Linked DNA regions of Homo sapiens: all the other regions are linked to region 3. Evidence: promoter capture Hi-C in human tissues and cell types (Jung and others, 2019). All regions are on one chromosome and are shown on one strand. Each heading gives the region's core, a stretch centred on a gene start or on the middle of the fragment in contact. The rest is flanking DNA. Distances are from core to core; before and after follow the strand shown.

Region 1 (2,700 bases), core at 157-2,656, 140 kb after region 3:
TCGCAAGGACAAAAAACCAAACACCTAATGTTCTCACTCACAGGTGGGAATTCAACAATGAGAACACTTGGACACAGGAACGGGAACATCACACACTGGGGCCTGTCATGGGGTGGGTGAGGGGGAGATAACATTAAGAGATATGCCTAATGTAAATGACGAGTTAATGGGTGCAGCACACCAACATGGCGCATGCATACATAAGTAACAAACCTGCGCGTTGTACACATGTACCCTAGAACATGAAATATATCAAAAAAATAAAATAAATAAAAGAAAATGAACATATTCATTCAATGCACAATGAAATGAAAAAAAAAAATTATTGTGCCTAAGTCAAGACAATGATTCTTCTTTGGGCTTCATTCAGAGTTGGAACTTCTCACCTCTCCCAGGCTCAGGGAAGATGCAGACCTCGGATCCTGTAAGATGCTGTGGATATTTGCTCTATTTTGTGGCCCAACTTGCCTTTCTGCTTTATCTCCCCCTAAAGAGCCAGACTTGGATCCTGACTATTCCAGAGTTAGGCTTATGGAAAGAGGAATTAGAGGAGAATGTGGACACCTGGTCAATTGGTACTGTCACTATCCAGCTTTGGTGCTCTCCAGAACTGGAGGTAGTAAAGGCTGACTGTTTCTTCCAAGAGGTGCTTTGAAACTTTTCTCAGAGATTCCCCACCAGGAACTTTAACTTATTTTCTCATAGTCACTGTTTTTTCTCCTGGGATTGCCTCTAACATCAACCCTCAACCTTGGCATTTGGTGGTCCACTTCATAGAGACACTTTCTTTTTGGTGTCCCATTTAACCTCTGGGAAGACCACATGAGCTTCATCTCATTTCTGCTCATGAGAGAGACCCCAGCAAATTTTAGTACCACAATTGATGGAAATATTCACCGCAAATGTCAGTCCTTTCTCTCTTCTATGCAGCCCCAATGAAGAAGCCACAGAGTTGCTATTCAGATTTCTCAGGAAAAGTCAAATAACTGTCCACTGGGTTCCCTAAACCCTAGGGGGTGAATATCAAACTCTTTAAGTGGTCCTTGAAGCCACTCTCACCATGCAGGGGGTGGGAAGGAAATTTCTACAGAACTCCACAACCCGGCCCCACACATCGTCTTGTTAGATCAGCTATTTTAAATCCTAAAGCAGTAGTCAGCAAAGCTTTTCTGTAAAAGGCCTGATAGTAAATTATTTAAGCTTTGCAGGCAAAACAGTCTCAGTAGCAATTCTCAACTCTGCATTGTTTTTAAAAAAGAAAAGAGCAATGGGCTATGCTTAAGCAAATGGGTGTGGCTGTGTTCCAATATAACTTTATTTATGAAAACAGATAGCAGGCAGGATTCAGCCTGTGGGCTCTAGTTTGACTCTCTAAAGGTAGGTGATGACCCAATATTCTGATTTTCAGCCTTCCCATTGCAAGGCCCGTCAAGATGGGGTAGCACTTCCCTTGGAAGACAGAGGTTCTTTCTTTATTGATTTTTCTTGCTGAAGTCAGAGAGACAGAAATGGTCTCATTTTTAACATCCTATTAAACACAAACACACACACACACAGAGAGAGAGAGAGAGAGAGAGACAGAGAGAGAGACAGAGAGAGAGACAGAGAGAGAGAGGGGAGAAAGAAAGAAAAATGACAGAAACAAAGAAAGAAATTAGTAAAGACATTTTGAAAAAATGTGCTGCGTGTTAAGAATGAAATTCCCTATAGTATTTCTGAGATGACTGGTCATGCAGGTGGCTGGGTCTTTCAACTGTAACATGTGGTGGGAGGAAACCAGAGTAGCCCAATTTTATCTGAGATGTAATAGGTTCTCTTTTCCTCATTTTATAGTTGGAAAAAACTAGTACTATAGAGATCAAATAACCTGTCTTTGGTCCCACAGTTAGTAAGAGACAGAACCAGGATTTAATTCGTTTTCCATGACCACCAAATGCTACGTAGATTTTTCTTAGGTAGATTATTGTACTTGTTTTCTATTACTGCTGTAACAAATCATCATAAATTTAGTTGCTTACAGCGACATAAATTTATTATACCACAGTTTTAGAAGTCAGAAGTCCAAATGGGTTTCACTGGGCTAAAGTCAAGATGAGATGTCAGCAGGGCTTTATTCCTTCTAGAGACTCTAAGAAATAATCTATTTTATTTCCTTGCCTTTCCAGTTCCTAGAGGCCACCTGCATTCCTTAGATTGTAGCACCTTTCTCTGTCTTCAAAACCAACAGTGTAGCATCTCCTGTGATGGTTAATACTGAGTGTCAACTTGATTGGGTTCAAGGATGCAAAGTACTGATCCTGGGTGTGCCTGTGAGGGTGTTGCCAAAGGAGACTAACATTTGAGTCAGTGGGCTGGGGAAGGCAGACCCACCCTTAACCTAGTGGGCACAATCTAATCAGCTGCTGGTGAATATAAAGCAAGCAGAAAAATGTGAAAAGGTGAGACTGGCCTAGCCTCTCAGCCTACATCTTTCTCCCATGCTGGATGCTTCCTGCCCTCAAACATCGGACTCCAAGTTCTTCATTTTTGAGACATGGACTGGCTCTCCTTGCTCCTCAAGCTTGCAGACAGCCTATTGTGGAACTTTGTGATTGTGTGAGTTAATACTTAATAAACTCCCATATATATATATTTATATTCTATTATTTCTGTCCCTCTAGGGAACCCTAATATATCTCATGACTTCTCTTGTCCCTCTGT
Region 2 (2,700 bases), core at 68-2,567, 170 kb after region 3:
ATGCCTACCCTGGGGCATAAGCACCCAAGAATGGCATTGCTCCATTTCTAAGCACTGGAAATTTTCAAGATGTATAAAATGTAGCTATTGCTTACTAAACAGTTCTGGAGCAGAAAGAGTTTTATGGGGGAAAGCCTGGGTCTTGGTGATAGGCTTGGAATCAAATCTTGCCACTTATTAAGCTGTGTGGCCCTGACCACGTTCCTTAATCCTTCTGAAGCTCTGTGTTCCTGTGCTTAGAATGGAGTTAATAATACTTATCTCACAGAACTGGTGTGCAGAAGTCATGAATATTAACATCTAGCAGTCTCTGCACCATAATAAGGAAGACTCAAATTCCTTCTCCTTCCCCTCCTCCCAGAAGTTACAAAAAGTTTAAATCAAATTGCAGACACCAAAAGTGTACCTTCTACCAAAGGTTTGTTGGTCCCAGGAAAGGGTTAATTGTTTAGTTTAGAGTCTTAGATATGTGTTCGCTAGATTAGAGGCAATTCCAGAAATCCACTCCCAGATGATTAAATTAGGGTGAGGAAAAACGGTGAGGCCGATTTGGCTGTGGCTTCGGGCTACTTGATGGTAATTTGACTAGGTTAACACAAACTGCAGCACACAGAGATTTGGCAGGCTACAAAAGCTGGTAGACGTGAAAGTTCTGGTGAGCTTTTTGGCAGAATCCTCCCTGTTTTCCCTGATCAAAGGAGAAAACCAGAAGGCCATGTGTCCAAGCTGCTTGATCTTCCTGAGCAGCCTTAAAGTTCCTGTTCCTGACCAGCCAATGTTTTCTCTGTTGTCCCTATAAAATCAAAAGCAGACTCCCCTGTGACACCGGAAGCCAGAACCCAACAGACTGGAAGTGAAGAATTCAGATTTTACAAATGCTCCCAGCATTGTCTCTGCATTTTGCCTTTTGCAGGAACACCCTGTGGTATTCTTCTTCCAAACTCAAACACATATGCCTTTCCCTTACATTTTCCATCTTTTTACCCTTCCATTAGCAGTTTGCAAACACTGCTATTGCAATTCTCCTCCCCGATGTATTATTCCATTCTCACGTTGTTATAAAGAACTGCCCAAGACTGGGCAATTTATAAAAGAAAGAGATTTAATTGACACGGTTTCACAGAACTGGGGAGGCCTCAGGAAACTTACAATGGTGGCAGAAGGGGAAGCAAACACATTCTTCTTTACGTGATGTCAGGAGAGAGAAATGCCAAGCAAAGGGGGAAAAGCCCCTTATAAAACCATCAGATCTCGTGAGAATTCACTCACTATCATGAGAACAGCAGCATGGGGGTAACTGTCCCCAAGATTCAATTACCTCCCACTGAATCCCTCCTATGACACTTGAGGATTATGGGAACTACAATTCAAGATGACATTTGGTTGGGGACACAGCCAAACCATATCACATGAGCTAATAAAGACAGAGTCATCTATAATGTCTCTCACACATCTTTTCCTCATCTCTTTGTCCCTGGTTCCCAGCAGAATGTCTGGTACTTTCATCCATTTATTCATTCAGTCAATATTTATGGCGTATCTGTTGTTTTCCAGGCACGGTACTTTACCCCTTGTGCATACTTAGTGCCTGCCACATAGAAGATAATCCACTGAATAATTGTTGAAGTAAATTAAGCTTATTTAGAGCCCACCCACCCTAATGAACTGGGTTGTAGATAATACGTTAGCAAAATTCCAGTGGGCCATGCATTCTCAGATATCCTGAGCAAAATGTATCATCTCATATGGAAGCTCATATCACTACCTCAAATCCTCACCATGAAAGCAATTTTAGAGTTCACTTAGACCACTGGATCCCAAATGTGGATCCCTAGGTGATTCTGATGCCAGAGTTGAAACCAGTCCAACCTCCCAACCAAAAATCATCTCCTTGCTACAGCTTCTCCAATGCAATTGGATAGTAGGTTCCAATGCCCTTCACATAATACCCAGCCACCTTACCAGGACCAACAAGGACCCGTAGGATCTGGTCCCTACCTGCTCTCATTGCCTAGTGCTCTGTCCCTCTGCTCACTACACCAGCCACACTGAGCTTCTCTCTGCTCCTGAGTGCACCAAGCTACTTCCAACCTCCAGGCCTTTGTCCTTTCTGGTCCTTCTGATCACTCAGGTCACACCTCAGAGGTTATTGTCTCAGAAATACCTTCTCTAGCCACCCAGTAAAGCACAATCTATTACACACACACGCACATAAAACACACACACACACACACACACAATACAGTCATTCTTTTACATTCCCTTTTATTGGGACAATGGCACCCATCACTAGCTACAATTACCTTTGTATCTGTCTGTTCACTTATTTATTGTCTGTCTCCACTACTAGGATGGAAATTTCATGAAGGCAGAGATCTTGGCCGGGTGCAGTGGCTCACACCTGTAATCCCGGCATCTTGTGAGTCCGAGGCAGGAGGATCACGAGGTCAGGAGTTCAAGACCAGCCTGGCCAAGATGGTGAAACCCTGACTCTACTAAAAATCCAAAAATTAGCCAGGCGTGGTGGTGGCTGCCTGTAAGCCCAGCTACTCTGGAGGCTGAGGCAGAGAATTGCTTGAATCTGGGAGGCAGAGGTTGCAGTGAGCCAAAATTGCACCACTGCACTCCAGCCTGGGCAACAGAGTGAGACTCCGTCTCAAAAAAAAAAAAAAAAAAAAAGAAAGAAAGAAAACAAGCAGA
Region 3 (2,700 bases), core at 43-2,542:
ATTTACTCAATGTTTAAACATTTGCCTGTCTTATTCTAAAGCCCCTTCTCTTTTCACAATCCCTTTAAGAAATGGACATCCAATATTTGAGTGGCAGAGGCAAAAACATGGCCTACCAGAACCATTATGATAGCTTTACAATATGCCCACCAATTATTTGATAGTCCTCCTGCCAAATGGTGAAGGCTAATTACCCTCCTACAGAATGTGACTCACTTCTAATGAATAAAATATGGCACAAGTAAAAGTGTGCGATTTCAGAGACTAGGTCATAAAGAACGCAGTGGCTTCTTCCCTGCTCTCTCTTTCTTAGGTCATTCTCTCTGGGTGAATCCAGCTGACATGTTGTGAGGACACTCAAGCAGCTTTATGGAAAAGCCCACATGGTGAGCAACTGAGGCCTCCTACCAACAGCCAACAAGAAACCGGGGCCTTTGCCAACAGCCAAGTAAGTGAGACATTTTGGAAAGTGGATCCTCCAGCCCCCGTTAGGCTCCCAGATGACAACATCCCCTGCTCTCATCTTGACCACAACCTCATGAAATACCCTTATCCAGGATACCCAGTTAAGCCACACCACAATTGCTATTTTACAAAACTGTGAGCTATGTGTTAGTTGTTTTTAAGCTATTAAGTTTTGAGGTGATCTATTACACAATGATAAACAACTAATACACCCATCCAGTGCTGAAGAAAGGGGTTGTCAGGAGGGTAGAATTTGCACTATTAAATCTTCATAGAGTGCTATTTCCCGTCACTACAGCACACTTGTCACCAACTATAAAGAATTAGGTCAGGGAATTTCTTTGGTTGCAGCCCATTTTGCCTTTGGTTGTTAATGGTAGAACCGTTTCCCCACAATCTGCAGGAAATAAGAATCAGAAAGAAGGACACACCATTCCATAGCACAGAACACAAGTAGATGGCTCCCATGAAGAATCTAGCATCATGGTATGGCAGAAGCAGAATGGACTCAGGAATCATGGTGCCTACACTGGAATTTCAGATCGGCCACTGACACAATGGACACATTATTCAACATTTCCAAATCTTGGCATTCTTATCCACAAAGTGAAGATAATAATTGTCAATTCACAGGTGATTATGATTTAAAGAGATTACTTTTGAAGAGTTCCTAACACATTCAGTCAACATTTAATGATGCTTCAGGCACTGTGTTCATTGCTAGTGAGCGTATGACACACACAGCCATACGGTCACAGAGCTTTCAATGAAAAGTAACATAATTGCTCATTTCACCAGGCCCCCGGCTTGGGGCGCCTTCCTTCCCCATGGCGGGACACCTGGCTTCGGATTTCGCCTTCTCGCCCCCTCCAGGCGGTGGGGGTGATGGGCCATGGGGGGCGGAGCCGGGCTGGGTTGATCCTCTGACCTGGCTAAGCTTCCAAGGCCCTCCTGGAGGGCCAGGAATCGGGCCGGGGGTTGGGCCAGGCTCTGAGGTGTGGGGGATTCCCCCTTGCCCCCCGCCGTATGAGTTATGTGGGGGGATGGCGTACTGTGGGCCTCAGGTTGGAGTGGGGCTAGTGCCCCAAGGCGGCTTGGAGACCTCTCAGCCTGAGAGCGAAGCAGGAGTCGGGGTGGAGAGCAACTCCAATGGGGCCTCCCCGGAACCCTGCACCGTCCCCCCTGGTGCCGTGAAGCTGGAGAAGGAGAAGCTAGAGCAAAACCCGGAGAAGTCCCAGGACATCAAAGCTCTGCAGAAAGAACTCGAGCAATTTGCCAAGCTCCTGAAGCAGAAGAGGATCACCCTGGGATATACACAGGCCGATGTGGGGCTCATCCTGGGGGTTCTATTTGGGAAGGTGTTCAGCCAAAAGACCATCTGCCGCTTTGAGGCTCTGCAGCTTAGCTTCAAGAACATGTGTAAGCTGCGGCCCTTGCTGCAGAAGTGGGTGGAGGAAGCTGACAACAATGAAAATCTTCAGGAGATATGCAAAGCAGAAACCCTCATGCAGGCCCGAAAGAGAAAGCGAACCAGTATCGAGAACCGAGTGAGAGGCAACCTGGAGAATTTGTTCCTGCAGTGCCCGAAACCCACACTGCAGATCAGCCACATCGCCCAGCAGCTTGGGCTCGAGAAGGATGTGGTCCGAGTGTGGTTCTGTAACCGGCGCCAGAAGGGCAAGCGATCAAGCAGCGACTATGCACAACGAGAGGATTTTGAGGCTGCTGGGTCTCCTTTCTCAGGGGGACCAGTGTCCTTTCCTCCGGCCCCAGGGCCCCATTTTGGTACCCCAGGCTATGGGAGCCCTCACTTCACTGCACTGTACTCCTCAGTCCCTTTCCCTGAGGGGGAAGTCTTTCCCCCAGTCTCCGTCATCACTCTGGGCTCTCCCATGCATTCAAACTGAGGTGCCTGCCCTTCTAGGAATGGGGAACAGGGGAGGGGAGGAGCTAGGGAAAGAGAACCTGGAGTTTGTGGCAGGGCTTTTGGGATTAAGTTCTTCATTCACTAAGGAAGGAATTGGGAACACTAAGGGTGGGGGCAGGGGAGTTTGGGGCAACTGGTTGGAGGGAAGGTGAAGTTCAATGATGCTCTTGATTTTAATCCCACATCATGTATCACTTTTTTCTTAAATAAAGAAGCCTGGGACACAGTAAAAAAAAAAAAAAAAGAAAGAAAAGAAAAGTAACATAATTGAGTAATAATTTTTTAAGTGTGGTAAAATGTGTGGCACG
Region 4 (2,700 bases), core at 132-2,631, 190 kb before region 3:
AAGCAGAGCAGGGGGAAAGCCCTCAAAGCAGAAAGAGCAAAGCTGCATGGTGTGAAGACTGCATGTGATTCAGGAACCGTGAGCAATGGTAGACTCGTGCCAAAGCACAGTGTGTAAGGAAGACAAGGCTGGAAACGTATGCTGAGGTCTGACTGTGAGAGTTTGAAGCCCCACTGAGAGGTCTGCACGAATTAAGAATTTCAGAGAAACATGATTAGTTCTACAATTGGAAAAATAATTCTGGTGCTAAGAACTAGTAAGGTATAAGATAAGCCTAATCACGGAGTGATTTGAAGTTGAAAAGAGTTTATAAGTTATTCTTTAAGAAATCTCTGTTATTGAGGTGTGAGGCAGAGCCAGTACATAATGTCTACGTTCTGAACCAACTGAACGGGGAAACAAAAGGCTAACATTAATATCAGACATTTGTAGAGCATTTACCTTGTGCCAGGCAACATTCTGGATGCTTTATGTACATTAGCTCATTGAATCATTTCAATTCAATCATTCAACGCAGGGGTTTGAATCTTAGCTGTTTGAGGTCATTGTCCATGCACTCACCTATAACATTGTTCTGTCTCTTTCTGCAAATGTAAGATAAAAATATTACCTTCATTCTAGAAAACACCCCTTTGTAGAATAGGTTTATACCTTCAGGCATGTGGACTTTCCAATCCAAACTCCAGGAGTAGACAGATACCCACCAGGACTAGGCAATGCAGGAAAATCTCAGGCTTCAGCTAGGACTGTTTCATACAATTTCCTGCATGGCCAGGAACAAGGGTGAAGGCATGCACTCTGTGAGCAGCCCATTTGTGGACAGTGGGTCATGGGACTGAAGGAACCATGTTACACATGCCTGAGTTTTCTTTCCAAGCTCAGAAACCATATCGAACACCCCTCCCTTGGGGAGAAGTGAGTGAGCAGGTGGAGAGACGATAGTAATGTTAGTATGGTGGAACTTCTTCCCCATAGATGGAAACACTGAGGGCTAAGAAGAAGGGCCTCTCCTCCAACATGTGTTATCTAGCAAGGCTGGTTCTATTTAAGAATGATATATAGTCTAGTGTAATAGAATACAATATGCCTAGCTCTAAAATTATGTTGGAAAAAAATCAACATTACGATGTGCTATATTCAGTCAATGAGTAAATATTTCTGTGCCTGCCACATGCTCAGCATTATAATTAGAGCCACCGTGAAAAATACTTATCCGTGATCCTTTATGCTGTCAAAGCCTAAATTCCCCACTTAACCAAGAATCCTGGATAATTCCCAAAAAACAAATTTATTATTTGTTTCTATGGTTGTGTGTTTGTCAAAAATTGAAGCATTAATAGAAATAAGAACAATTTAGACTATAAAAGCCATAGGCTTATAAAAATGCTAGCATCAGCACATTCCAAAACTGCCTGCCCCATCCCTTGATGGTATGTGTGATTGCTGTCACAAAACTAGCAGTTAGAATCTTTTGTAACTGAGGATATAAACCAAATTTAGAAATATGTCTTTACTAAAGGGTGGAAACTTAGAAACTGAAGTGGATTTACCACAATGAACTAGAACTAAATGTACCAACACAGGCTCAAAACACTCTAAGATAATTTTTCAAATTTATTTAAAATTAAGAAAAGAAAACTGGGTAACATTGAATCACAAACAGTTGAAAACACTGGGGTTACATAGTATTAACATATAATTACATGATCATTTGTGATAAACAGAAAATTTAAAAAAAGAAAAAGGAGAAAAAAATAAAAAATAAAGAAAAACAAAAAACAAAAAAATAGAAAATGAAATGAGAAAAAAATTGATCAATGGCAAATCACTGGAGATAAATCATTGTGTACAGATTTCCCTATTGAAAAAAATAACAATAATTAAACACCAGCTAAGCCTTCTTTCTTCTTTTGATTTTTGTGAAAAATCGCAATAAGATGTATCTCTAGATCGTGTGCTTGCCAGAATCTTTGCTGTTTCTTAGGTGAAAGATCATTGATAAGAATCTGGCATGGAGAACAGTCAAGGAAGCATTGCAGCTCAATACAAAACGGTGGCCAGGGAAGATCCACTGAATTAGGAGTCAGCAGTCATTATTCTACTACCTGCTAATCTTCTATGAGCTTCGTCAAGTCATTTAAGCTTGGTACCCGTCAGTTTCCTCATCTGAAAACTGAGAAAAGTTGTTTCAAATTGTCTAAGTCCATTCCAGCTTGATCATACTAGCATCTTATGTGCAGCTTCTTAAAGTCCAGCTCACACCTCTGTCAACTCCCTGTATAATATGACTTCCAAAAAAACACCTGTGGTTTGGTTATACATATATATGGACATATATATGTTATACATATATATTGGTTATACCTATATATGGACATATATAGGTCCACTCTTCTCATATCCACAGCTGCTATCAATATAATAAATGGGCAGTATCTGTAGTATCACTTATTAATAAAATGAAGTTTTTCTGACATATACACAACCCAGACTATTAGGTCATTATCTCAATAATCCCTTAGTGTAGGGAAAAGGGCAGAAAACACTTTCATTTTCTGTCTTGAGCATTAGCAAGCCACAGTCCATATAATTTAATTAAAATAACAAATGAATAATCTATAATTGACCTGTGTCTGTTTCTCCAAGCCAAAGGGTAAGTCAGATATACATGATTTTAAAATCTCTTGTTATTTTCAATAT
Region 5 (2,700 bases), core at 34-2,533, 240 kb after region 3:
TGATAAATGGAACTTCATCAAAATTAGCACTTCTTCTGGGCACAGTGGCTCAGGCCTGTAATCCCAGCACTTTAGGAGGCCAGTCAGGTGGATCACTTCAGACCAGGAGTTTAAGACCAGCCTGGCCAACATGGCAAAACTCTGTCTCTACTAAAAATGCAAACATTAGCTGGGTATGCCTATGCATGCCTGTAGTCTCAGCTAGTCAGGAGGCTGAGGCACAAGAATCACTTGGACCCAGGAGGCGGAGGTTGCAGTGAGCTGAGATCAAACCACTGCACTCCAGCCTGGGCAACACAGCAATATTCTGTCTGAAGAAAAAAAAATCCACTTATCAAAAGATACAAGCACAGACTGAAAGAAAGTCCTTATAAGTGACATATCTGAAAAAGAATTTATATCTAGAATATATGAAGAATCCTCAAAACTCAACAATAAGAAAATTAAAAACTCAATAAGAAATTGGCAAAAGATTTAAACATGATTTAAACAGATACTCCAACAAAGAAGATATGTGGATGGCACATAAGCACATAAAATATGCTAGGCCAGGTGCAGTGACTCACACCTGTAATCTCAGCACTTTGGGAGGCCAAGGTGGGCAAATTGCTTAAGCTCAGGAGTTTGAGACTAGCTTGGGCAACATGACAAAACCTCGTCTCTACGAAAAATACAAAAAATACTACAGGCATGATGGCACGTGCCTGTAGTCTCAGCTACACAAGAGGTTAAGGTAGCAGGATCTCCTGAGCCTGGGAGGTCAAGGTCACAGTGAGTCAAGACTGTACCACTGCACTCCAGCCTCATGACAGAGTAAGACTGTCTCAGAAAAAAAAAAAAAAAAAAAAGATCAACATCATTAATCATTAGGAAATGTACGCTAACACAGTGAGATGCCGCTACACATGTATTAGGAAAGCTAAAATTAAAAAGTCTGACCACACAAAGTGTTGGCAAAGATGTGAAGCAATTAGACCTTTCATATGCTGCTGCTGGGAATGTTAAAACGGCACCATCACTTTGGAAAACAGTTTGGCAGCTTCTTTAAAAGTTAAATACATACCTACCTCATCATCCAGCCATTCTTCTAGATATTTACAAACAAAAAAAAAAACTGAAAACAGGGCCAGACATGGTGGCTCATACCTGTAATACCAGCACTTTGGGAGGCCTAGGCAGGTGGATCACCTGTCAGGAGTTTGAGACCACCGTGGCTAACATGATGAAACCCCGTCTCTACTAAAAATACAAAAATTAGCTGGGCATGGTGGTGCACATCAGTAATCTCAGCTACTCAAGAGGCTGAGACAGGAAAGTCACTGAAACCCCTGGAGGCGGAGGTTGCAGTAAGCTGAGATCATGCCACTGCACTTCAGCCTGGGTGATAAGAGCAAGACTCCATCTTAAAAAATAAATAAATAATTTTTTTAAAAAAGGAAACATATGTCCATGCAAAGACTTCTACGTGAATGCTTATAGACACTTTATTTGTCATATTCAAAAGCTAAAAGCAACCACATGTCTATCCCTGGGCGAATGAATAAATGTATTGTGGTATATCCGTACAATGAAATACCAACTCAGAAATAAGTAAAAGAGCCAGACAAAAAGAGTTCACTCTGTATGCTTCCATTTATATAAGATTTTACAAAATGTAAACTAACATATGGTGGGGAAAGGGTGCAACAACAGAAGTCACTACAAAGGGACACAGGATGCTTTTGGGGGTGATAGATATGTTCATTATCTTGATTGTGGGGATGGATTTGTGGATGTATACATATGTAAAAACACCAAATCGTATACTTTAAATACATCAGCTTACTGTGTGTCCATTATACCTCAGTAAAGTTGATTTAAAAAGAAAGATGCGGCCGGGCATGGTGGCTCAACACTGTAATCCCAGCACTTTGGGAGGCCGAGGTGGGCAGATCACCTGAGGTAGGGAGTTCAAGACCAGCCTGACCAACATGGAGAAACCCCGTCTCTACTAAAAATACAAAATTAGCTGAGAGTGGTGGTGGGTGCCTGTAATCCCAGCTACTCGGGAGGCTGAGGCAGGAGAATTGCTTGAACCTGGGAGGTGGAGGTTGTGGTGAGCCGAGATCACGCCATTGCACTCCAGCCTGGGCAACAAGAGTGAAACTCTGTCTTAAAAAACATATATATATGAAGAAAGATTCCTGATATACTGAAAAAGTGTCAAGATGGGGGAAAAAAAACAAAAGCAATGAGATACAGAAGAAGAGATATAGGGGAGACTTGAATCCCAAGTGCTCTAAGAGCAGACAAATGCTGCTAATCACTTTATCACCCAAAACTGGACTTCAGTCTACCAGAGTTCAGGCAGATGGAAAGTAGACTGAGAAAATGCTGAAAACAAATTGATGTGCTATAAACTGGAATAAAATTCAAAGTATTTGCACAAAGCTGTTCTACACAGAGAGCTGTATGATTCTAAAAATTTAATTACTTACTTAGAAAATAACACACAATACACACACACACACACACACACACACACACACACACACACACGAGCTTAAAAACAGTGCCAGTAACTGGTATGACAAGAGATGAATACATTTAAAACCAACCCAATGTCTGGCTGGAAGCAGTCATTCTGAGCTTCTGACATTGCTAATACATCAGACAGAGGCAGCAGGAAGAGTTCCACTGAGGAAGATTCAAATGCAATTT
Region 6 (2,700 bases), core at 153-2,652, 210 kb before region 3:
CACTGTGTTTCTATTATTATTACATTGTATTATATAATGAAATAATTATACAACTCACCATAATGTAGAATCAGTGGAAGCCCTGAGCTTGTTTCCTGCAACTAGACACTCCCATCTAGGGGTGATGGGAGACGGTGACAGGTCATTAGGCATTAGATTCTCATAAGGAGCGCACAACCTAGATCCCTCGCATGTGCAGTTCATGACAGGGTTTGTGCTGCTATGAGAATTTAATGCCACTGCTGATCTGACAGGAGGTGGAGCTCAGGCAGTAAGGTGAGCAATGGGGAGCAGCTGTAAATAACGCTGATCTCACTCACCCACTGCTCACCTCCTGCTGTGTGGCCCAGTTCCTAACAGGCCACAAAATGGTACCTGTCTGTGTCCCCAGGGTTGGGGACCACTGCCTTAAAGGCCTTCATCTCATTCAGTTTTCATCAAAATTCTGTGTGGTAGGTACTCTCATTAGACCCATTTTATGGGTAAGGAACTGAGGTAAAATTGGTTATATAACTTGCCTAAAATAAGTCAAGTCTCTGATGAGAGGGCCAGGATTCAAGTTCAAGCAGTCTGACTCCAAAATCTCAAAGCACTTCTGTGGTAGGAAAGAGAAATGAATGGAATGGCATAGAGTCATCTAAATGACTGCAGTAGGAAGGGAGCATTTCCCGTGTGCAGTGTTATTTTTTCCGGGCTTTGAAAGATAAATAGGAGCATGCAGTTAAAAAAGAGAGGAGAAGGCATTCTAGGCAGAAAGGCCAGTGCTTACACAGAATCTCAGAATTGTAACAGTTCCTATTACACCCTGGCAGAGTGATGCCAAGGCTGTTATTGTCAAGCACCCTCCTGCCTCCCAGTGGGGTTGAGAAGGGGTGAAGGGACACTGGCAGAAGTGAAGCTGGGAAGTTTGCACTTGCTAGTTGGGACTTGCATAGCCATCTTCTCAATGCCAAAGAGGACCTCAGTCTCTGTGTGCGCTTTGTTTTTTGTTGTTGTTGTTGTTGTTGATTTGTGGCCCAGGCTAGAGTGCGGTGGTGTGATCTCTGCTCACTGCAACCTCCATCTCCCAGGTTCAAGGGATTCTCCTGCCTCCAGACTCCCAAGTAGCTTGGATTACAGGCGCCCGCCACCACACCTGGATAATTTTTATACTTTTAGTAGGGGTGGAGTTTCACCGTGTTGGCCAGGCTGGTCTGTGTGTGCTTTGGATTTGAGACACTCTGATGATTTAGAGTTGAAAATGGGAGTAGATTGGGTGATTCTCTAGTTATCATGTTTAGTCAAATCAGATCCGTGCATTCAAAATCATAAGGCAAGTTTTCCTGTGTGGCTCAGTAACATCCTTAAAGAAATAGTTCTGATGTCCATCCGGTGTTTTTTCAGAAAGAGCGTCAGGGTTGACAGTAGCTGTGATGCTCCAGATGGAGCTGCGGATAACAGCATATAAGTTTCAGGGCAGTGGTTGAGGGGCTGTGGGAGGGTGGGGAGGGAAGATGGATGACTTTTCTCAACCATCTGTATTTGATTGGAATATTGTGTGACTTGTGAAATAGAATTAAAGATATGATCTTCTTATGGTCTTCTCACAGTTTTCAAGGGATTTTAGGAGAAAACGCTTAGCCATACAGAGCTGTGGACAAGAAAATCACCTATCAGAACATATTTATCTAGAAAAGGAAAATTTAAACAGTCAAATAGAAGAGTTATTAGCTTTCTTTTTCCTTCTCTCTAAGAAGGTTAGTTAGAATCAGCTTTCTTACTCACTACATCCTGTACTTAGAAAGGAATAACCTGCACATGACACGTTCAAAAAATCACCTTTGCATTCTGAACCTAGCTGGGAAATTATGACAACAATGAAGAGATATGTGGGCGTCCTCACATTTTGTGTCTTAAAATGTCCAGCTCTCAAGGTGAAATATTTTCCCCCATGAAATCCCCATTGAAAACAGAAACCAGAACTATGATCTAAAAGAAAAATATCTATTTGAATATTTCTACTTGTGAACTGACATTTTTAGCTATTTTAGTACCTTTTTTTGGTGACTGAAGCATAGCAAATAGAGTTTTGTTTCCTTCCCACAGATATCAGATTTCTTCAAACAGTACATAGAATGGTGCACATTACAAGGCATTTACCACACAAAAAAACAAAGGCACTGGAGGAAATAAGGGTTGGGGGAGAGGGAGGAAATGGTAGGTACCATCTCACATGGGGATATAGTTCTCACAGATCACCAGGTAGGGTCATGTGATCTGCGTGAGTTTCCTAAGGGAGAGAGGGGCTCTCCTTTTGTTCGTGTTGGCTGCATCACTGCATTTCATTAATTCTGAATGGCAAGTGAGCAAGACCCTCGCTGCTGAAATCTGATCAGATGTTATTGATGAATCATGGAATTCCAGAGTTAGGAGCTGGAAAGAAGGTCAAGAGGACATCTGAGTCAGTGTCTGACTAGTAGCAGGTGATGGGTTATGATGTCAGTTTTGGAACCGGACAACTAAGGCCCAAAGGTGTTCAGGCATCCTCTTCTGGTCCAAAGGTCAGCTCCAGGGACCAGGCTGCAGGTCTCTGACAGCAGAGGATAATTCTCTTTCTGTATCACACATGCCGCCTCAACTAACCAGCATGAACATAAAATCTGCATTGTAGCCAAGTCTATAGCTGTGGAAAACACAGAGTTCCTTCCCACACCCACTTTT

Evidence for each region. Contacts are between HindIII fragments. The study calls those that stand out against the background at their distance.
Region 1: a fragment that was not itself captured here is called in contact with the fragment with the promoter of POU5F1B in region 3 in 2 of the 25 tissues and cell types used here (mesendoderm cells and spleen).
Region 2: a contact is called between a fragment that was not itself captured here and the fragment with the promoter of POU5F1B in region 3, in 1 of the 25 tissues and cell types used here (liver).
Region 4: a fragment that was not itself captured here is called in contact with the fragment with the promoter of POU5F1B in region 3 in 1 of the 25 tissues and cell types used here (aorta).
Region 5: a contact is called between a fragment that was not itself captured here and the fragment with the promoter of POU5F1B in region 3, in 1 of the 25 tissues and cell types used here (mesendoderm cells).
Region 6: a fragment that was not itself captured here is called in contact with the fragment with the promoter of POU5F1B in region 3 in 1 of the 25 tissues and cell types used here (mesendoderm cells).

Annotation. Positions count from the first base shown.
Region 1 is chr8:127,555,543-127,558,242 of GRCh38, forward strand. No RefSeq gene overlaps it. Among named protein-coding and RNA genes, the nearest start is that of CASC8, 75 kb to the left of the region's middle. The HindIII fragment of the contact is 4,006 bases long and covers 1-2,700 here.
Region 2 is chr8:127,583,159-127,585,858 of GRCh38, forward strand. No RefSeq gene overlaps it. Among named protein-coding and RNA genes, the nearest start is that of CASC8, 100 kb to the left of the region's middle. The HindIII fragment of the contact is 7,724 bases long and covers 1-2,700 here.
Region 3 is chr8:127,414,575-127,417,274 of GRCh38, forward strand. POU5F1B (POU class 5 homeobox 1B) reads left to right here and starts at 1,293. Exons shown (of 1, transcript NM_001159542.3): 1 at 1,293-2,372. The coding sequence starts at 1,293. The coding sequence ends at 2,372. All of the region lies in intron 5 of CASC8 (cancer susceptibility 8), which reads right to left. The HindIII fragment of the contact is 11,415 bases long and covers 1-2,700 here.
Region 4 is chr8:127,226,958-127,229,657 of GRCh38, forward strand. No RefSeq gene overlaps it. Among named protein-coding and RNA genes, the nearest start is that of CCAT1, 9.0 kb to the left of the region's middle. The HindIII fragment of the contact is 3,791 bases long and covers 1-2,700 here.
Region 5 is chr8:127,654,909-127,657,608 of GRCh38, forward strand. No RefSeq gene overlaps it. Among named protein-coding and RNA genes, the nearest start is that of CASC11, 78 kb to the right of the region's middle. The HindIII fragment of the contact is 8,143 bases long and covers 1-2,700 here.
Region 6 is chr8:127,208,088-127,210,787 of GRCh38, forward strand. CCAT1 (colon cancer associated transcript 1) reads right to left here. Exons shown (of 2, transcript NR_108049.1): 2 at 1-1,630. Among named protein-coding and RNA genes, the nearest start is that of CCAT1, 9.8 kb to the right of the region's middle. RefSeq lists silencers at 142-331, 822-961, enhancers at 1,882-2,001, 2,158-2,700 and a cis regulatory region at 2,537-2,556. The HindIII fragment of the contact is 9,493 bases long and covers 1-2,700 here.